Linked DNA regions of Homo sapiens: region 2 is linked to region 1. Evidence: promoter capture Hi-C in 16 types of primary human blood cells and fetal thymus (Javierre and others, 2016). All regions are on one chromosome and are shown on one strand. Each heading gives the region's core, a stretch centred on a gene start or on the middle of the fragment in contact. The rest is flanking DNA. Distances are from core to core; before and after follow the strand shown. Region 1 holds the start of EFNB3 (ephrin B3). Region 2 has its middle 35 kb from the start of GUCY2D.

Region 1 (5,323 bases), core at 36-2,535:
GGGGACCATTACTCAGCTCTGAGGGGAGCAGGAGCACTCTCCTCCGCTCCCCGGGGCTCCCCAGGAGGCAGACAACCCAGTTGCCAGAGTCAAGGACACACATAAAAGAGTAAAGGTGTTGAAAAATACAGTCGTCACCTTTGATATTGCTGTTCCATGCGGGGCGCGGCGAGGGTCTTATTCATTCAGCGGCTGTCGCTGGGCTTGTTTCTCCATTTGTCTGCTCTGTCTTTGGGGGTGGGGGACGAGTGTGTCATTTGAAGCAGTGACTCCTCCCTCCTCCCCCCAACACCTTCCCAAACACTGAGAATGGGGGGACTTTGAAGAAATACTGCCAGCAGGGGATGTGATTTTGGACCTCACAATCAAAGGGAAGGGACGAAAGGCCTGGGGAGGCTTGAGAGGGAGAGGAATGTCACCCCTGCCCAGAGGTGCTGAAAGCCAGGGCTCTTACACCCGAAAAGGCAACTCCTCCCTTCCCCCAGGATAATTGGAAACAGCCCTTCCTGCGCAGCGCCGGTTTGGGGTTGTAGGTACGCCCCTTCTTCTCCCAGCCCCGCTTCTCCCCCCAGCCATCTAGGAAAGACCCAAGTGTATCCCCTAAACTCTTGTTTTTCACTAACCCCCAGGTAACAACAGCACTTGGTCCATGGAGCAGTGACAAAAGAGACCCCAAGAGTGGGAGGTGCGCAGCCTGGGTTTGGTTTCTAGCTTTATCCCAGACTTCCTGTGTGACCTTGGGCAAGTCACGGGGCCTCCCTGAGCCTCAGTTTCCTCATCTCTGCAATGGGATCGTTAGCTCTGCCCCTCCCACTTCACACAGGTAGTCGTGACGATCAGCTCCGCCGCACTTTGTAAAGCGCCAAGCCTTCAAGGTTATTATTATTCTCTCCAAACCTGCCGGGAGCAGCGGTGTTGTTTTGGGATGGAGGAGGAGGCTGCGGGAGCGAAAGGGGTGGGTTCCTCGGGGTGGAGAGGGCGAGAGCCTTTCTGGATTCGAGAGAGGAAGATTCCAGCAGCTTGGGCGATCGGAGGGCAGGAGGGGAGCCGGGCAGAACTCAGCCGGAGCCAGAGGCTCGGAGAGACAAAGGGGGCGTGACAGCCCGCGCCGGGGGCTGAGGCGGGGCGGCGGGCGGGAGGTGCGCGAGGTGAGGGAGGTGTGGGGGGCGTGGGCCGCGGGATGCTGCCGCCCGCTCCGCCTCGAGCTCCAGCTCCGGTTTTTCCCTCCACCATCCTCTGCCCCTCCCCGCCTCTCCTTTAACTCCCCCCTCCTGGGCTCGGGACTGGTTTCCTCCCTTAGCCCGCTGCCCTCAATCCCAGCGAGGCTGGGGCTCCGGCTCGGCGCCCCCTTCCTCGCTCCCTGGTCCGGCGCCCCATGCCGCCCCCGCCCGGTCCCCGGCTCCCCCAGTCCCCCACTTAGGCGGGCTCACAGATCCCGGGGTGCTGGCGCGTGGGCCGGGGGCGCGTAGGGCGCCTGCAGACGGCCCCTGGAAGGGCTCTGGTGGGGCTGAGCGCTCTGCCGCGGGGGCGCGGGCACAGCAGGAAGCAGGTCCGCGTGGGCGCTGGGGGCATCAGCTACCGGGGTGGTCCGGGCTGAAGAGCCAGGCAGCCAAGGCAGCCACCCCGGGGGGTGGGCGACTTTGGGGGAGTTGGTGCCCCGCCCCCCAGGCCTTGGCGGGGTCATGGGGCCCCCCCATTCTGGGCCGGGGGGCGTGCGAGTCGGGGCCCTGCTGCTGCTGGGGGTTTTGGGGCTGGTGTCTGGGCTCAGCCTGGAGCCTGTCTACTGGAACTCGGCGAATAAGAGGTGAGTGGCCTGCGGCTGGGGAGATCCCAGACCCTAGGGCAGTGGGTAGGGAAGCTCTGGGGGCTTGGAGGCGGGCTTCTGTGGGCAGGGAGGAGGCGGGAGGGAAGGTGCTGGTGCTCTGATGTGTGATGGGTTACTAGACAGGTGATCTTGGGAGCCAGACTCCGGGTCCCACGCAGAGCTGGATGCGGGTGGTGCTATGGATGTCAGGAGTTTGGAGACCCCAAAGGGGCAAGGAGAAGAAAGTTCATGGGTAGCCGGGAGGGCAGTGAGGTGGGTATTTGGATCTGTGGGAGGCCTGCGTCGGGGGCTGGGCTTGGAGGGAGCCTGGTTACTGTCAGCTCTCAGGAGAGAGCTGCAGATTAGGTGCTGCGAGTCGCTGAGGGGAAGGCAGGGCAGGGTGCCTCCCTCCCCCAGAGGGACTGCGCATCCGAGATGGGAGGCAAGGGGGTTCCGTTTGGGGGCTCTGGGGACAACTTCCCCAAGGCTCCTTGACTCTCTTCACAGTCTGTCTCCCAACTCTTCCCCACAGCCAGAGGGTCAGTGAACTGTTGGCTGAACGATTTCCCAGCCAGAACATATTCCTGCCTTCCTGGCTTGCCGGCATCTTGCTGGAAGAAGCCTGGAGCCCCCTGAACCCTCCTTCCTTCCCTTTTGCATCTGGAGGACTCCATTGCCCCCTCCCCCAATCTTTGCTGCAAACTCTTCCATCAGACCCTCTGTTCCATGGCATGCCAGCTTTGCTCTGAAAAGAGGCCAGGGGTCAGATGAAACTTCAAGCCACGCTGGGTAGGACAGAACCTTCGGGAGGTCACCTGGGTCCCTTGCCTACATGCGGATCCCACTTCCCGCTCATAAAAGAGTTCTGTGTTTTGAAAAATTCCTACTTCCCTGGGGAGACTGTGTGAGGCCATGGGAAGGGGGTGGGCTTTGGAGCTCATCAAATCTTTGGTCTTAATCCTAGCTCTGCCGCTTTCAGCTGTGTGGCCTTGGGCATGTCACTTAACCTTTCTGAGTTTGTATCCTCAATCCTTACAGCTATTATGAGGATTAGCGGTAAGGTGTTTGAATGTATTATGTGCTCATTAAAGGAGAGCTAGGATTATTGTTCCTCTCTTTACTTCCCAGCCTCCCTCACACTTCTCTGCTCTGCCATCCCTCCCTCTCTTTTCCCTGGATCTCTTTGGGTATAATCTCAATGTCTTTTCTGTACTCAGTCACCCACCTGCCAACTCCCAGCTGCAATGTGAGTATCAGGTGTGTAGCTTGAGAACATAAGCTTGTTTTCACAGGGTAGAGAAAAGGGAGTTAGGGTGTCCTGGGGGCTCTTTCGGATGTGGGGTGGGAGTGGGACACTTGGGAGTCTGGGAAGATATCAAGTAGCAGTCCCCTGGGACCCAGTCCTGAGACCCTGTCTCAGCAGCTATTGATGTCCAGGAAGGGGCTGCAGGGGTTGGCAAGTTGTGGCTGTGCTGGGACAGTGGATGCCTGGGTGCACTGGCCAAGGAGATGGTGAAGTGTGTTGGTTGTGGTTAGAAAAGTCAACTCCTTTCCTTTCCAAAGCAATAGAGCACTTGCCCCAGAAGTCTAAGACCCAGTGTGGGATTCTGAGTGGGAGAATGACTCAGGCAGCAGGTTCCTAGACCCTGGTTCCCATCAGCCCCAATGATGGTCGTGGCCAAACCAGGCATTTGCCTTCTGTGCTATTAGCTGGCTAACTTAGGACACTGGTCTGGACCACCCTCCACACAGCCCCTCCCTGAACCGCCGCCCCCTTTGCCCGGAAATCCCTGAAATTCAGTGGTGGCCTGAAGGAGGGGAGGCTCTGCCCGCATGGTTGGCTGCCATGGAATAGTGAAATCACCTGGGAGGGGTGGGCTGTGTGGTTCCAGAGAGGCCAGCTCCTTGGTAACTGGCATCCTGTTGCCATGGCAACGGGGCTGGTGATGGAGCGGGAGATGGCGGTGTGCATGTGGTGAGGGCGGGCTGAAGAGTGGAGTGCATTTGGGCACACCAAGGGGCAGGAGACCCCTGAGCCTGGCTTCCTGCTGCTTCCAATGTGAATGCACAGAGTCCTTGGTGCCTGCTCTATAAGAAGAGACTTTCCACTCAGACAAAGGCGGGCAAGCGTGAGCTGAGAATTGCTGTCCTGGAAGGTTGTGGGGTGAGGGAAGGAAAGTTCTGGGGGCCAGGCCTCTGACATCTCTTCCTTGTCCACCTTACCCTCCTCCCCATAGGTTCCAGGCAGAGGGTGGTTATGTGCTGTACCCTCAGATCGGGGACCGGCTAGACCTGCTCTGCCCCCGGGCCCGGCCTCCTGGCCCTCACTCCTCTCCTAATTATGAGTTCTACAAGCTGTACCTGGTAGGGGGTGCTCAGGGCCGGCGCTGTGAGGCACCCCCTGCCCCAAACCTCCTTCTCACTTGTGATCGCCCAGACCTGGATCTCCGCTTCACCATCAAGTTCCAGGAGTATAGCCCTAATCTCTGGGGCCACGAGTTCCGCTCGCACCACGATTACTACATCATTGGTACTGCTGGGCAGAGGGCACGATTGAGTGGGGGGCTCCTGATACTGAGCAGAGAGGGAGGGGGACCCCTGCAGCCAAGAGGGAGATCCCAGTGCCCTCAGGCAGTGTTCACACCAGGGTGTGGGGCCAGAATCAGGGCTAGATTCTGGAGTGCCAACCTCTTCCTCTGGCTTTTCTCTCCCAGCCACATCGGATGGGACCCGGGAGGGCCTGGAGAGCCTGCAGGGAGGTGTGTGCCTAACCAGAGGCATGAAGGTGCTTCTCCGAGTGGGACAAAGTGAGTGGGGCTGGGGGACACCTCCTGGGCACGAAGGGACGTTGGGGCAGTACGATCATGGTTGGGGCAGTTGTCTCAGCCCCTCTCTGGGTCTTCCTCATCTCCAGGTCCCCGAGGAGGGGCTGTCCCCCGAAAACCTGTGTCTGAAATGCCCATGGAAAGAGACCGAGGGGCAGCCCACAGCCTGGAGCCTGGGAAGGAGAACCTGCCAGGTAGGAACCAGGGGCTAGGCCCCTGCCTTCCCCAGCTTCCTCTGCTCTCAGACCCCAGCTGCCCTGCCGTCACCCTCCCTCCCTCTTCAGTTTTGGGGGCGGTGATACAGGAAAGAGGAGAAGAGAGGATGGGAGGGTGGGAGGGGAATGGAAACCAAATGAGGAAAAGACTCAATTAGAACTAATTAGCCAAGTCAGTGCTTCAATCAGTGCTGTCAGAGAAGTGGGGAGGACTCCGTGGCAGGAAGCTGAAGGGCTGGACACCTGGATTCTGAGCAGAGTTCGGAGGGGGAGGAGAGATGGGGTCCCCAAGGGGCCTGGGCGCTACAAGGGAAGCCCATGGGGACCCCCAGGGTTGGGTGTCCAGGTGCCCAGGTGGCTCCTTCAGTCCCTCCCCCTCTTTCCTCCTTCACCCCTTCCCTGCCAGGTGACCCCACCAGCAATGCAACCTCCCGGGGTGCTGAAGGCCCCCTGCCCCCTCCCAGCATGCCTGCAGTGGC
Region 2 (5,420 bases), core at 473-2,972, 260 kb after region 1:
AGGAGTTTGAGACCAGCCTGGGCAATGTAGTGAGTTTAAAAAAAATTTTTTTTAATTTTATTGCTCTTTATATTGTAGTGTATTTTATTTTATTTTATTTATTTTGAGATGGAGTCTCGCTCTGTCACCCAGGCTGGAGTGCAATGGCGTGATCTTGGCTCACTGCAACCACTGCCTCCCACGTTCAAGTAATTCTCCTGTCTCAGCCTTCTGAGTAGCTGGGATTACAGGCACGCACCACCATGCCGGGTTAATTTTTGTATTTTTAGTAGAGACGGGATTTCACTACGTTGGTCAGGCTGGTCTCGAACTCCTGACCTCATGATCTGCCCGCCTCGGCCTCCCAAAGTGCTGGGATTACAGGCGTGAGCCACCACACCTGGCCTATATTACCTTTTAAATAAATTGTCTCATTTCCTTTGATGAAACAGATTTTTATCATCACACCTAATGAAACAGCATAAAAAATAGTTTACATGGTAATCTCATAAATTAGTAGATATGCAAACATTCTAAATAAAATTTTAGCAATCAGAATATAGTATAAATTTTAATAAAGTATAATTTTTAAAGGAATTTTAAAGGTGTGGTAGCTCACACCTGTAATCCCAAAAGTGTGAGAGGCTGAGGCGCAAGAATCGATTGAGCTCTGGAGTTCCATACCTGGGCAACATAGCAGACCTCATCTGTACTAAAAATAGTCCCAGCTACTCTGGAAACTGAGGCGGGAGGATTGCTTGAGCTCGGGAGATTGAGATCAGTGCTATCATCATGCCACTGCAGTCCACCCTGGGTGACAGAGTAAGACCCTGTCTCAAAAAAGAAGAAAAAAAGAACATGTACTTTTTAACCAATTCTGTTTTTGAACTTATTTCAAATGGTCTTTCATTTTTGTTTTTCTGTCACTTATAAACATCCCCCACTAAAGCTCAATTTTCCACATAACCAATAATATTATTGGAAAAAATTCATATAATTATTTCCACAAATGCCAGAGGGAATTCTTCATGGAAACTCTCCCTAAAAGCAATAAAAGGTTGCCTCTTTAACATGACAAAAAGGCTCTATTGAAAACCAAAAGTCAAAATTACACTTAATGGAGAACATGAATTATTCCTCTTTAAAATAGGAACAAGACAAGGATATCTTATTACTACTATTCAACGTAGCTCTAAAAATTCTGACAAAGCTATTTGAGAAGAGAAAGAAAGATATACATAAAGAAAAGGAAGAAATAAAATGATCATGTTATGCAAATGAAATGAAAAGCACCTCAAAATTACTAGAGATAATAAATGAAGGCATCAAAGAAACAAGATATAATACAAATTAATTTAGGACAATTTTCCTCTTGATAATAGTGCATTTCTCATTTTTGTTCTTTCTTTCCATGCATCCCTTTCTGTTTTTATTCTTAAAGCTTCATGATTTTACAATTTATAAGTCCTGAACATTTTGTGTTAATCTTTTCTCAGATATTTTAAAGATTTTTTAATCGCTTTTATAAATGGAATTTTTTTTGACATTACATGTACTTTATTTTTCTTAAGTGTTTAAAATAAGGCATTTCGGCCAGGCACGGTCGCTCACGCCTGTAATCCTAGCACTTTGGGAGGCTGAGGCCTCCTCAGGTGGATCACCTGACGTCAGGAGTTCGAGATGAGCCTGGCCAACATGGTGAAGCCCTGTCTCCACTAAAAATACAAAAATTAGCTGGGCATGGTGGCATACACCTGTAATCCCAGCTACTTGGGAGGCTGAGGCAGGAAAATCGCTTGAACCCAGGAGGCGGAGGTAGCAATGATCCGAGATCGTGCCACGGAACTCCAGCTTGAGCAACAGAGACAGACTCTGCCTCAAAAAGAAAAAAAAAAAGGCATTTCTTTTGTAATCTAATTATAACATTTGCAGTTATTTGGAATTGTCTTTCATTTCTGTTTTTCTGTCACTTATAAACATCAGTCATTCACAATGACTAATGATAGAGGTACATCACGTAAGTATAGATGTAAAGTATTGTTTAAGAAAGCTTAGGTATTTATTTTTCGGGCTTTCATGTTGTTATGCTGTTCCTACTCTTCTTCTTCTTCTGTTTTTGTTTTGTTTTGTTTTGTTTTTTTGAGAAAGAGTCTTGCTCTGTTGTCCAGACTGGAGTGCAGTGGTGCAATCTTGGCTCACTGCAACCTCCGCCTCCCATGTTCAAGCGATTCTCCTGCCTCAGCCTCCTGAGTAGCTGGGATTACAGGCATGCGCCACCATGCCAGGCTAATTTTTGTATTCTTAGTAGAGACAGGGTTTTGCCATATTGGCCAGGGTGGTCTTGAACTCTGACCTCAGGTGATCCACCTGCCTCGGGCTCCTAAAGTGCTGGGACTACAGGTGTGAGCCACTGGGCCCAGCCTGTTCCCATTTTTCCATTGTTCTTCTCCTCCCCTCATTTTCTTTTTCTTTTTTTTTTCTTCTTTGAGACGGAGTCTCAGTCTGTCGCCCAGGCTGGAGTGCAGTGGCACGACTTGGCTCACTGCAACCTCCGCCTCCCGGGTTCACACCATTCTCCTGCCTCAGCCTCCCGAGTAGCTGCGACTATAAGCGCCTGCCACCACGCCCGGCTAAATTTTTTTTGTATTTTTAATAGAGACGGGGTTTCACTATGTTGGTCAGGCTGGTCTCGAACCCCTGACCTCTTGATCCACTCGCCTCGGCCTCCCAAAGTGCTGGGATTACAGGCGTGAGCCACCGCACCCGGACCCTCCTCTCATTTTCTTTTCTGGTGTCTTGAACCAGGTAACTGGGAGGCATATTAAGGGGTTTTAAATTTAGGTAATAAAACAAATCACTAGTTCCTGGTATACAGCACTAGATTTGGTTACAGAAGTTTTTGCTAACCATTACCTCTGGTTTCAGGCAGTTGTCAGGTGACTGGCCTCAGGATAACATATTGCTCTATGTATTGCTATGTGACAAACCACCCCAAAACTTCGTGGCTTCAGCAAAAATATGTGATTGTTGCTCATGGTTCTGTGGGTTGCTGGACTTAACCTGATAACTCTCACTCAGGATTTGCAGTGTCAGCCAATCTGAAGCCTCAACTCCGCTGGACAGTCTGGGATCTGATGCTATCTTCAAGTGGATAGTGTCAGAATTGAATTGAATTATTGACACCCAGCTAGTATCTGCTGCAGAACTGCTTGATGTGTGGGGACCTCTCACTCCAACACACACACACACACACACATATTTTGGTGTCAGAAACATCATAAGTGTTGATATTTCCTATCTCAAATAGTAGCCACCTTTGGAGACTATCTACTGCACTTACATGAGTTGCAAAACTACTTGAGACAGAACCAGGCCAACGAGGGATAGTTGTTTTTTTGTTTGTTTGTTTGCTTTGTTTTTTGTTTTGTTCTGAGATGGAGTTTCCCTCTTGTTGCCCAGGCTGGAGTGCAATGATGTGATCTCGCCTCACCACAACCTCCACCTCCTGTGTTCAAGCGATTCTCCTGCCTCAGATTCCTGAGTAGCTGGGATTACAGGCATGCGCCACCACGCAAGGCTAATTTTTGTATTATTGATGGAGATGGGGTTTCTCCATGTTGGTCAGTGGTCTCGAACTCCCGACCTCAGGTGATCTGCTTGCCTCCGCCTCCCAAAGTGCTGGGATTACAGGCGTGAGCCACCGCACCTGGCCCAATAGTTTTTATTTATTTACTTGTTTATTATTTTTTCTTTTCTTTTCTTTTTTTCTTGAAACAGAGTCTCATTCTGTTGCCCAGGCTGGAGTGCAGTTCACGGATCACTCCAGCCTCAACCTCCCGGCTCAAGCTATCCTTCTGTCTCAGCTCCCCCCAAATTCCCCCACAGCCGGGACAACAGGCGTGCATCACCATGCCCGGCTAATTTTTACAATTTTTGTATAGTTAGGGGTCTCAGTATATTGCCCAGGCTGGTCTCGAAGTCCTGGACTCAAGCAATCTTCTCCCCTTGGCCTCCCAAAGTGCTGGGATTACAGGCTTTTTTTTTTTTGGAGACAGAGTCTCGCTCTGACGCCCAGGCTGGAGTGCAGTGGCAAGATCTCAGCTCACTGCAACCTCCGCCTCCTGGGTTCAAACGATTCTCCTGCTTCAGCCTCCCGAGTAGCTGGAATTACAGGTGTCCACCACCATGCCCTGCTAATTTTTGTATTTTTAGTAGGGATGGGGTTTCACCATGTTGGCCATGCTGGTCTCGAACTCCTGACCTCAGGTGATCCACCTGCCTTGACCTCCCGAAGTGCTGGGATTATAGGCGTGAGCCACTGCGCCCAGCCTGGATAGTTTTTTATTTGCAGTGTACAATGTTTTCTAGTCCAGTGCTTCACAGGCCTCTGTGAATACAAATTGCCTGCGGATCTTGTTCAAATGCAGATTCTGATTCAGTGGATCTGGGAAACCATCCTCAGTCGGTTCTTGACTATTTAAACAAAAACTGGGAAACCCCTGAGATTCTTCATTTCTGAGCTCCCAGATGATGCCCATACTGCTATTCACCTTTTTTCCCCCACTTTGTAAGGCTTTGCATAGAGAAGTTCCCCTCCTGGCACTAACCATTCTTCTAACAGTCTGATCGAGATATAAGTCACACACTATACAAATAAAAGTGTACAATTCAATGATTTTTAATATATTCATAGAGTTGCACCATCATCACCACAATCAACTGTAGAACATTTTCATCATCCCAAGAAGAAATCTTGCACTGTTTCGCCATCAACCCGCCACCTCCCCATCCTTCCCTGCCTTGAGCAACCACAACAATCTACTTTCTTTTTCTACAGATTTGCCTATTCTGGACACTTCATCTAAATTGAATCATACAATACGCAGTCTTTTGTGACTGGCTTCTTTCACTTAACATAATGCTTTCAAGGTTCATCTGTGCCGGGCTGGGTGCAGTGGCTCACGCCTGTAATCCCAGCACTTTGAGAGGCCAAGGCAGGTGGATCACTTGAGGTCAGGAGTTCGAGACCAGCCTGACCAACATGGTGAAACCCTATCTCTACTAAAAATACAAAAACTAGCCAGGTGTGGTGGCACACGCTTGTAATCCCAGCTACTTGGGAGGCTGAGGCAGGAGAATTGCTTGAACCCGGGAGGCGGAGGTTGCAGTGAGTGGAGATCATGCTGTTACACTCCAGCCAGGGTGACAAGAGCAAAACTCCGTCTCAAAAAAAAAAAAAAAAAAAAAGGTGTAGCATGGATTAGTACTTCATTACCTTTTATGGCTGAGTAATATTCCATTGTATGGATAGACCACATTTTGTTTATCTGTTCATCAGTTGATGGACATTTGGGTTGTTTCTACTTTTTGGCTATTATGAATAATGCTGCCATGAATATTTGTATGTAAGTTTTTGTGTGGACATGTGTTTTCATTTCTCT

Evidence for each region. The method cuts DNA at HindIII sites, captures the fragments that hold promoters and counts their contacts. A CHiCAGO score of 5 or more calls a contact.
Region 2: a contact is called between a fragment that was not itself captured here and the fragment with the promoter of EFNB3 in region 1, in 2 of 17 cell types (endothelial precursors and activated CD4 T cells). The highest score is 6.1, in endothelial precursors.

What each region holds. Positions count from the first base shown.
Region 1 is chr17:7,703,917-7,709,239 of GRCh38, forward strand. EFNB3 (ephrin B3) reads left to right here and starts at 1,286. Exons shown (of 5, transcript NM_001406.4): 1 at 1,286-1,804; 2 at 4,042-4,334; 3 at 4,519-4,611; 4 at 4,719-4,823; 5 at 5,251-5,323. The coding sequence starts at 1,683. RefSeq lists enhancers at 1-770, 1,664-2,555. The HindIII fragment of the contact is 8,602 bases long and covers 1-3,081 here.
Region 2 is chr17:7,964,878-7,970,297 of GRCh38, forward strand. No RefSeq gene overlaps it. Among named protein-coding and RNA genes, the nearest start is that of GUCY2D, 35 kb to the right of the region's middle. RefSeq lists a silencer at 2,961-3,161. The HindIII fragment of the contact is 609 bases long and covers 1,419-2,027 here.